Linked DNA regions of Homo sapiens: region 2 is linked to region 1. The links are contacts of gene promoters, found by promoter capture Hi-C in blood cells and fetal thymus (Javierre and others, 2016). All regions are on one chromosome and are shown on one strand. Each heading gives the region's core, a stretch centred on a gene start or on the middle of the fragment in contact. The rest is flanking DNA. Distances are from core to core; before and after follow the strand shown. Region 1 holds the start of FANCD2 (FA complementation group D2). Region 2 overlaps THUMPD3 (THUMP domain 3 tRNA guanosine methyltransferase).

What was found. Contacts are between HindIII fragments. The CHiCAGO score rates a contact against its expected background, and 5 or more counts as called.
Region 2: a fragment that was not itself captured here is called in contact with the fragment with the promoter of FANCD2 in region 1 in 1 of 17 cell types (fetal thymus); the score reaches 5.2 in fetal thymus.

The regions. Positions count from the first base shown.
Region 1 is chr3:10,024,382-10,028,724 of GRCh38, forward strand. It overlaps FANCD2 (FA complementation group D2), which reads left to right and starts at 2,056. Exons shown (of 44, transcript NM_001018115.3): 1 at 2,056-2,092; 2 at 4,244-4,340. The coding sequence starts at 4,277. It also overlaps the pseudogene CIDECP1. RefSeq lists enhancers at 247-883, 1,519-2,154, 2,155-2,789. The HindIII fragment of the contact is 7,543 bases long and covers 240-4,343 here.
Region 2 is chr3:9,365,614-9,369,956 of GRCh38, forward strand. It overlaps THUMPD3 (THUMP domain 3 tRNA guanosine methyltransferase), which reads left to right. Exons shown (of 10, transcript NM_001114092.2): 3 at 1,295-1,372. Among named protein-coding and RNA genes, the nearest start is that of THUMPD3, 4.7 kb to the left of the region's middle. The HindIII fragment of the contact is 1,259 bases long and covers 1,257-2,515 here.

The sequences.
Region 1 (4,343 bases), core at 806-3,305:
GAGAAGACATAGATTCTTAAGAATATGGAACTCTGGTTTGAGAGGTACCGAGTTTAAAGTTTTATTCTAAGACAATGTCATTTAGGCCTGGTACAGTGGCTCACACTTATAATCCCAGCACTTTGGGAGGCTGAGATGGGAGGATCCCTTGAGCCCAGGAATTTGAGACCAACTGGGCAACATAGTGAGACCCTGTCTCTGCCAAAAATAAATAGATGTCTTTCAGTTACAAATTACAAAGCTTTATCTTTATAACAGTACAAGGACTTATTTTTAGATATTCACAAAAATAAAAATACAAAATTAAAAATTTCTTGCGGAATTTGCAAACTTCAGATAACACAGATATTGAGTGTTTAGAAAATACAGGATAATTTAAGATTGCTTATTTAGGGTCTTAAAATACCTCAGGGTCATGATATTCAACTCCATTTCTACAAAACTATTCAGCAGCGTAAATATAGGAGAGCTAGATGAATTTCTTTTGATTACACTGCCTGGAAAAGTCTTGAATTATCGTAGACTGAACAAGTGTTTTTTCGTTTGTTTTTCTGGAGACAGGGTCTTGCTTTGTCACCCAGGCTGGACCAAAAAGGTCGAGGCTGCAGTGATTGAGGCTGCAATCGCAGTGGTGCGATCATGGCTCACTTCAGCCTCGAACTCCCGGGCTCAAGTGATCCTCACACCTCAGCCTCCCGAGTAGCTGGGACTACAGGCACACACCACTGCACCTGGCTAATGTTTAAATTTTTTTGTAGAGACAGTGGTCTCATTGTGTTGCCCAGGCTGGTCTTGAACTCCAGGGCTCAAGCGATCCTCCCACCTCAGCCTCCCAAAGTATTGAGATTACAGGTGAGAGCCACCACGCCTGGCTGTGAACAAGTTTTTTGATGGCCTACCATGTGCCTTGCACTCTGCTGCATGCTATGGGGTATAGAGTAAGGCAAGGTCATGACCCTGCGCTCAGAGTTTCTGTTCAAGTGATAAAATATGCAAACGGAAAAATAATAGATACTTAATCTAGTGCAACAAGAGCGAAACTCCGTCTCAAAAATTAAATTAAGTTAAATTAAATAAATAAATAAATACTGCAATGAAGTATGTGAGGAAGTTGCCTCCACCCTAGGAAGGGAAATGATAATTACAATTCCTTACATGTCTAACAGCAGTGTTACAGATTGCAAAGCGCTTTGGTGCTTAGCATCTCAGCTAACCATTGGAACAGTAATTTGGTAGAATGCAGATTATCACACTCACTTGACTGGATGTTACAAATACTAAAAGCTATAAAGCACCAGGCACTCTTCCCAACGAAAGGGTGGGATGGGATAGTTCATAGGTAAACCCACCGAGGGTTGGCGACTAACCTAAAGGATTAACAGCACCGTTTTTGTTTTTTGTTTTTAACACTCAATACGTCCTAGATCCTGTGCTAAGGGATTTACAGACATCATCTAATTTGATTCCCACCTGTCTATGAGGGAGGTACTGTTATTATCCCCATTTCACAGAGGACAAAAGTGAAACACAGAGGTAACGGGTAAGGTCACCTTGCCAGTGGGGGCGAGACGTGAACCTAGGCAAACTGACACAACGCCTGCACTTTCTTGTCCAAGGTCACGGCGGTGTGAGGTAGGCTGGGGAAGGGAGGGCGCTGACCTGTCAGATACTTGTTCCTGGGTGAGCTTCTTGTCGCTCTCCAGCAGGATGGACACGTAGTGGCGGATCATGTCTACGAAGAGTGATAACGATGGGTAGGACCACCCAGAGGCAGATGTTGGAGTCAAGCAACAGTTCTGGCCCTGCCATCTTCACTGAAAGCTGGCTCCCAGCCGGTGATGGGCGAGCTTCTCTTCACCGGGGCGCAGTTGCTTCTCTCTGACGTCGCCTCTGGGCCTTCTCTCGCCCCTATGCCCGGCTAGCACAGAACTCTGCTGCAGCGGTGAGCCCAGCTTATTGCCTTCAGCTGGGCTGCCCGGCCTTCCACTTCCGGCGCGGAAGTTGGCGTCACGTCATGGCGCGCCTCGGTGGCGTCAGAGCGGCGTCGGGCCTGGCGGGAAAGTCGAAAACTACGGGCGGCGACGGCTTCTCGGTGAGTAAGTGGAGCAATGGTCGTAGTCTCTCGAGGCCCCGCTCCCCTGCGGCCTAATCTCTAAGTCCGGGCCGCGGTCGGCGTTCTCCTCTGGGGCTCCGCGCCCCGAACCTTGGCTTCCTCATCTGCCCTGAGATGGGATAATCCCCACAGGTACCTTTCTGCGTCATTAAAATGCGGAAACGAGAAAGGCTTTTACCCTCACCCGCTTCCCGATGAACTAATCCAGGCAGTCGGCCTCATCTCACTTCTGTTGGGCTTTTCTGGAAGCCAGATGGTATCGCACGTGTTAAAGGCGGGTGCCTGGAAGCCGGACGTGCTGACAAGACTTAGTTTTTCCATCTGCAAGATGGCTGATAATGGTTATCCGTATTAACCGAAGCGGCGATAAATAAAAAGTTTAGCACAGGGCCCGGTACCTCGTAAATGTTAACCATTATTAGAAGTCATTATAATCATCAAGAGTAAGTATAGGTGGTGAAGAGCGCAGGTGCTGAAGCCAGACTCCGAGTTAGAATCCCAGTTCTGCCCGTGATGATGAGAATAATGGTACCCACCTCAAAAAGTTTTGTGGGAAATAAATGAATTATTAAATATAAAGCACTTGAAACAGTTCTTGTTAGCTTTTAGCATTTCCCCTGCACTGCGAGCTTTTTTCACTCTGAATATTCTCAGAAATTTTCCTTATGCCGGTAACTATGCTGGGCATTAGGGACATTGAGTAAGTGAGACTGGGTTCCTGCTCTCAAAGAGCCCCAGTCTAGTGTGAGGTAAGGGCCCCTAGGTATACCCTGTGGAGCAGGGAAGCTGCAGTAGCAAACTCCCTTAGGGATAGGAGGAACACTTTTCAAGGAAGATGACATTCGATTGAATGTTTAGATCTGAGTAGGAATTTCCAGGCAAATAAGAGCACTTCAGATGAAAAGAACACCTTTGTGCAAAGGCACTGAGACCACGAAGGTTCTGATTTACAAGATTAAAAGGTCATGTGATTCAGGCACTTCCCCCACCTCTGCTGTCTGATTTCTAACTCCACATCTCCTTGTTTCAGTATGAGTATCTATTTGCCTGGACTCCTCTTCTCCTACCCCTTCTACTGGCTAACTGCTGTTTCAGCCCTCAAGTCCCTGCCTAAAAATCACTTCTTCAGGCCGGGCGCGGTTGGCTCACGCCTGTAATCCCAGCACTTTGGGAGTCCGAGGCGGGCGGATTATGAGGTTATGAGATCAAGACTATCCTGGGTAACACGGTGAAACCCCGTCTCTACTAAAAATACAAAAAATTAGCCGGGCGTGGTGGCGGGCGCCTGTAGTCCCAGCTACTTGGGAAGCTGAGGCAGGAGAATGGTGTGAACCCGGGAGGTGGAGCTTGCAGTGAGCCGAGGCTGCACCACTGCACTCCAGCCTGGGTGACAGAGTGAGACTCCGTCTCAAAAAAAAAAAAAAAAAAAATCACTTCTTTAGGCCGGGCGGCTCACACCTGTAATCCCAGCACTTTGGGAGGCCGAGGTGGGTGGATCACTTGAGGTCAGGAGTTTGAGACCAGCCTAGCCGACATGGTGAAACCCTGTCTCTACTAAAAAAAAAAAAAAAAAAATTCAAGGAGATTGTCCCTAAGAAATGGTCCTTGCTTCTCTTTACCACCCTTACTAGCAACTAGACTAAATTTCCTAGTAAGCCCTCATAGAACCTGTACTTTTATAGCACTTACATAACTGTAGTTCAGTACATTAAGGCTATTTGTTACCATACTGTAAATTCCCTGAGGACAGGGATCATGTCTGTCTAGTTCACAGTTGTAACCCCAGCACCTAGCACAGTCCCTAACATATAGTATTGAAATCATGAATTAAAGGACAGGTACGTTGGGGATAGATAATGGAGGGTCTTGAATCTCAGATGGAGAGTGATGGGTTTTATCCTTCAGCAACAGCGAAGTAGTCTGCCTAAAGAGGTAACTAAGACTTGAAAGGAAGGTAGTATTGGCTAGATGTAAGAGTTGAAATTTGCTTAGCACCTAGGTTTAGGTAGCATTAATATGGAGATGTGAGCCCCTCTGATTTTGGATAGAGCAGTTTTCTTTGAACAATAGCTTTAACTTCTCAGAATTTATCTTCTAGAGGGTAACTTCTGTTTCCCGATTTTGCTCTAGGAAGTAATTTAAGTGCACAAGACATTGGTCAAAATGGTTTCCAAAAGAAGACTGTCAAAATCTGAGGATAAAGAGAGCCTGACAGAAGATGCCTCCAGTA
Region 2 (4,343 bases), core at 636-3,135, 660 kb before region 1:
ACAGAGTCTTGCTCTGTCATCAGGCTGGAGTGCAATGGCGCGATCTTGGCTCACTGCAACCTCCGCCTCCCAGGTTCAAGCAATTCTCCTGCCTCAGCCTCCCCAGTAGCTGGGACTACAGGCGCCCGCCACCGCATCTGGCTAATTTTTGTATATTTAGTAGAAACGGGGTTTCACCATCCTGGCCAGGCTGGTCTCGAACTCCTAACCCCGTGATCCACCCGCCTCGACCTCCCAAAGTGCTGGGATTACAGGCCTGAGCCACTGCGCTCGGCCTGCCAGTTGAGCATTTCTAATCTGAAAATCCGAAATGCTGCACTGAGCATTTCCTTTCAGCATTGTGTTGGGGCTCAAAAAGTTTCAGATTTTTAGATGTGGGCTGCTCAACCTGTAGTAGGATTGCTACATTTTTAGAGGTGATCTAGTATTTCTTGAGGATTGAATTCACCAGAAAGAATACTGTTCAACTTAAGAAATTCTCTAAGTATCTCAGTATTTATTTACTTCAGCATATAGCAGATGTTTAACCTTTGGTGATGAAACATAAAAGAGATTTTCCTTTTAATTTGCATCAAAAATTCTTGCTCAGAAGTAATTAGGACTCACTCAAGGTAAAAAGTGAAGGTCAGAAAACTGCAATCTCACTATCATAAAGCTGATATATCTCATTACCACATAAGCAGTGAGAGGGCAAGGATTGTTGTCTATTTTTTTTTCCACCAATATATCCCACGCTCTTAGTGTCTGGCATATAGTAGGTACCCAGAAAATATCTGTGGGATGAATTGGTAAGCAAATGTTTTCCATCCAATATTTTAGCCAATACCCTCAGCAGCTTTGTGAAGATAGGCACTATTATTATCCTCATTAATCATTAGGCTTAGGACACATAAATAATTTCCCCAGGGCCACTCAGCTAGTAATCACAGAACTGGAGCTCAAATCCCCTGCTTTTAACCATTGCAGCATACAGTGTACCCTAGAAAGTCATCGAGGAAATATGATACAGCCCACCTGAGTGGCTTCACCTTTCTCTTCTCCCACAAAAGACGTGTTGCCCACAAAACACTTCATGCTTCTCTCTTTCCATCTGCCCTTTTTCCCTTTCTCTAGGGGAAAGCTGATTAGTAACCAAAGAGATGAGAAACTAGGGAGATGGGACATTTTAAAAATACAAAATATAGTTAGTAGCTGCTTTAAAACTATCATTCCTAATTTTTTAAATACTTAATTGTTGATAGCTTGTGCTGTTCAAAAGCTTTCTCAGAAATGTGTTTCTTTTTTTTTCACCCAGGTTCATTGTCTGAGATCAGTTGATAACTTATTTGTGGTGGTTCAGGAGTTTCAAGATTACCAGTTCAAACAAACAAAGGTGAGCTATCCTAAACATGGTGGCTGATTTTTGGCTGTCTTCCACAAAGAGATTATTTCCATTTTTCATAGTCTGTGAAAGTTTAGCATTACTGTAGTCTTTGTAATAGAGAATACTGGGAGGCTTTTACAGTAAAATCTAGAGTTTTGCTGACAGTCTATCCCAAAAGATGTTTTTTGAAAATTAGTATTGAAAACCATTAAAGTTTATAAGAAAGAAGAAAACACCTTGTTTTACTTGTAAGAGATATAAACCTTAGATTTGCTTTGCTTTTACATATATTTAGTTCCAAAAGAGAATTGCTTCCAGAACATGAACCAAAGAACAAGTGACAGTTTGTGTCTTCTACAAATAACACTTCCTCACCATCCTGCTTTTGCTCTGCTTTCTTCTCTTTCTTCATTTTTTGAAATAAAGCCAAAATAACATCTAAATACTCCTTCAGTTGTTAGGACAACAGCTTTGTCTCCAATATGTATTTAGCATCTGAATCCTAAATATTCAGCTGCTGCCTAAGCTGAAGGTTGAAAATAGATTGCAGCAAGGCTTTAGGTTTTTTCCACACTGCTTTTTGGTTAGGTTTCTAGAGTTAACCGCTTAAAAACATTTTTCTATCAGTTTTACGTATCTTAGAAATAATCTTTTTAAAAACAACTGTGATACGCTACCTAATTGTCTAACTTTTATTTATTGGCAAGCATGTTGATTTCCAAAACGTTATTCAAAAACGAGTCAAAGTTGTATGAACCCTCAGCCTAGAAAACAATAAGACCAGACCTAAAAGAAGTCAGACTTAAGGGCCTGGCGTGGTGGCTCACACCTGTAATCCCAGCACTTTGGGAGGCCGAGGCGGGTGGATCATGAGGTCAGGAGATCGAGACCATCCTGGCTAACACGGTGAAACCCCGTCTCTACTAAAAATATAAAAAATTAGCCGGGCGTAGTGGTGGGCGCCTGTAGTCCCAGCTACTCAGGAGGCTGAGGCAGGAGAATGGCGTGAACCCGGGAGGCGGAGCTGGCAGTGAGCAGAGATCACACCACTGCACTCCAGCCTGGGCGACAGAGCGAGACTCCATCTCAAAAAAAAAAGTCAGACTGAAAATAGATAAAAATTGTATTAAGTAAAAATCTAACTTTTAGAAAAGCTTAAAGCAATTCTAATGAGTTCTCTTAAGTATTCAGATGATAATCATGAATTTATTAGTCCCCACCCCCCTCTTTTAAAAAATATTGAGATGGGGTCTCACTATGTTGCCCAGGCTGGTCTCAAACTTCTGGGCTCAAGTGATCCTCCCACTTAAGCCTCCCAAAGTGCTGGGATTACAGGTGTAAGCCATTGCACCTGGCCCCCATTCCCCACCTCCACCCGCGCATATTTTTTTTTTTTTTTTTTTTGAGACAGAGTCTTGCTCTGTTGCCTAGGCTGGAGTGCAGTGGCACAATCTCAGCCTACTGCAACCTCTGCCACCTGGGTTCAAGCGATTCTCCTGCCTCAGCCTCCCGAGTAGCTGGGACTATAGGCATATGCCACCATGCCCGGCTAATTTTTGTATTTTTAGTAGAGACGGGGTTTCAGCATCTTGGCCAGGCTGGTCTTGAACTCCTGACCTCGTGATCCACCTGTCTTGGCCTCTCAAAGTGCTGGGGTTACAGGCGTAAGCCACCGCGCCTGGCCTCCATCTGCCTTTTTAAAAGTATGAACAAATCTGTGATTTATATGGGTTTTTAAAGACTAGTTAATACATGTATTTGGAGCAAACTTGTAAAGACTGAATGGATATAGAGTGAAAAGTAAGTCTTTGTTCCTATATCCTCATGCTATGCAGCTCCCTCCCTGGAGGCAACAACTGTTAGCAATTTCTTGGGTATTATTCTGGAGATATTTTACGAATAAATGTATTTTATTTACACAAATGAAAGCATAGCATACATACTTTTCTGCGCTATGCTTTTTTTTCATATACAAGTTGAGTATCCCTTATCTGAAATACTCGGGACCAGAAATGTTTTGGATTTTTGTTTGTTTGTTTTTTGAAATATTCTGGGTTGGGCATGGTGGCTCACACCTGTAATCCCAGCACTTTGGGAAGCCAAAGCAGGTGAATCATGAGGTCAGGAGTTTGAGAGCAGCATGGCCAAGGTGGTGAAACACCATCTCTACTAAAAATACAAAAATTAGCCGGGTGCGGTGGCGGGCTTCTGTAATTCCAGCTACTCGGGAGGCTGAGGCAGGAGAATCACTTGAACCCGGGAGGCAGAAGTTGCAGTGAGCCGAGATCACGCCACTGCACTCTAGTCTGGGCAACAGAGCAAGACTCCGTCTCAAAAAAAAAAAAAAAAAAAAAAAAGAAAGAAATACTCTGAGGGTGGAACCTATGTATAAATAAATCCAAGATTCATTTGTTTCATATATACGTTATACGTATAGCTTGACGGTAATTTTATATGATTTTTAAAATAATTTATACATGAAACAAAGTTTGTGTACACTGAACCATCAGAAAGCAAAGGTGTCACTATCTCAGCTACCTGTGTGGCATCATGTTGGCACTTCAAAAAAATTTTAGGTTTTGGATTTTGGACTTTGAGATTAGGAATGTTCAACCTATATGTTGGAGATCCTGGCAGTATCATTGCTGGAATTGGCTGCGTATACTCCATTGTTTGGCTGTATAATAATTTAACCAGTCCCATTTTAGGGCATGAGGGTTTTTCACATTCTTTTGCTATTACAGTGGTGCAACAAATACACTATGTAAATTCTTGTACATATTCAAACTGAGTGTCATCTTTGTGTTTATCCCATTGATACTTATTGATAATGACAACTGTTTAGTCTTAGTTTTGTCATGCTCATACTTTTTGTTTTTTCTTAATTTGAAAAATCTTTACATTATGTCTTTACTTTTTTCATATGCCTGTGTTTTCTAATAGTTTGGAAGGTTTATGTGTGTGTGTTCTAGCTGTTACC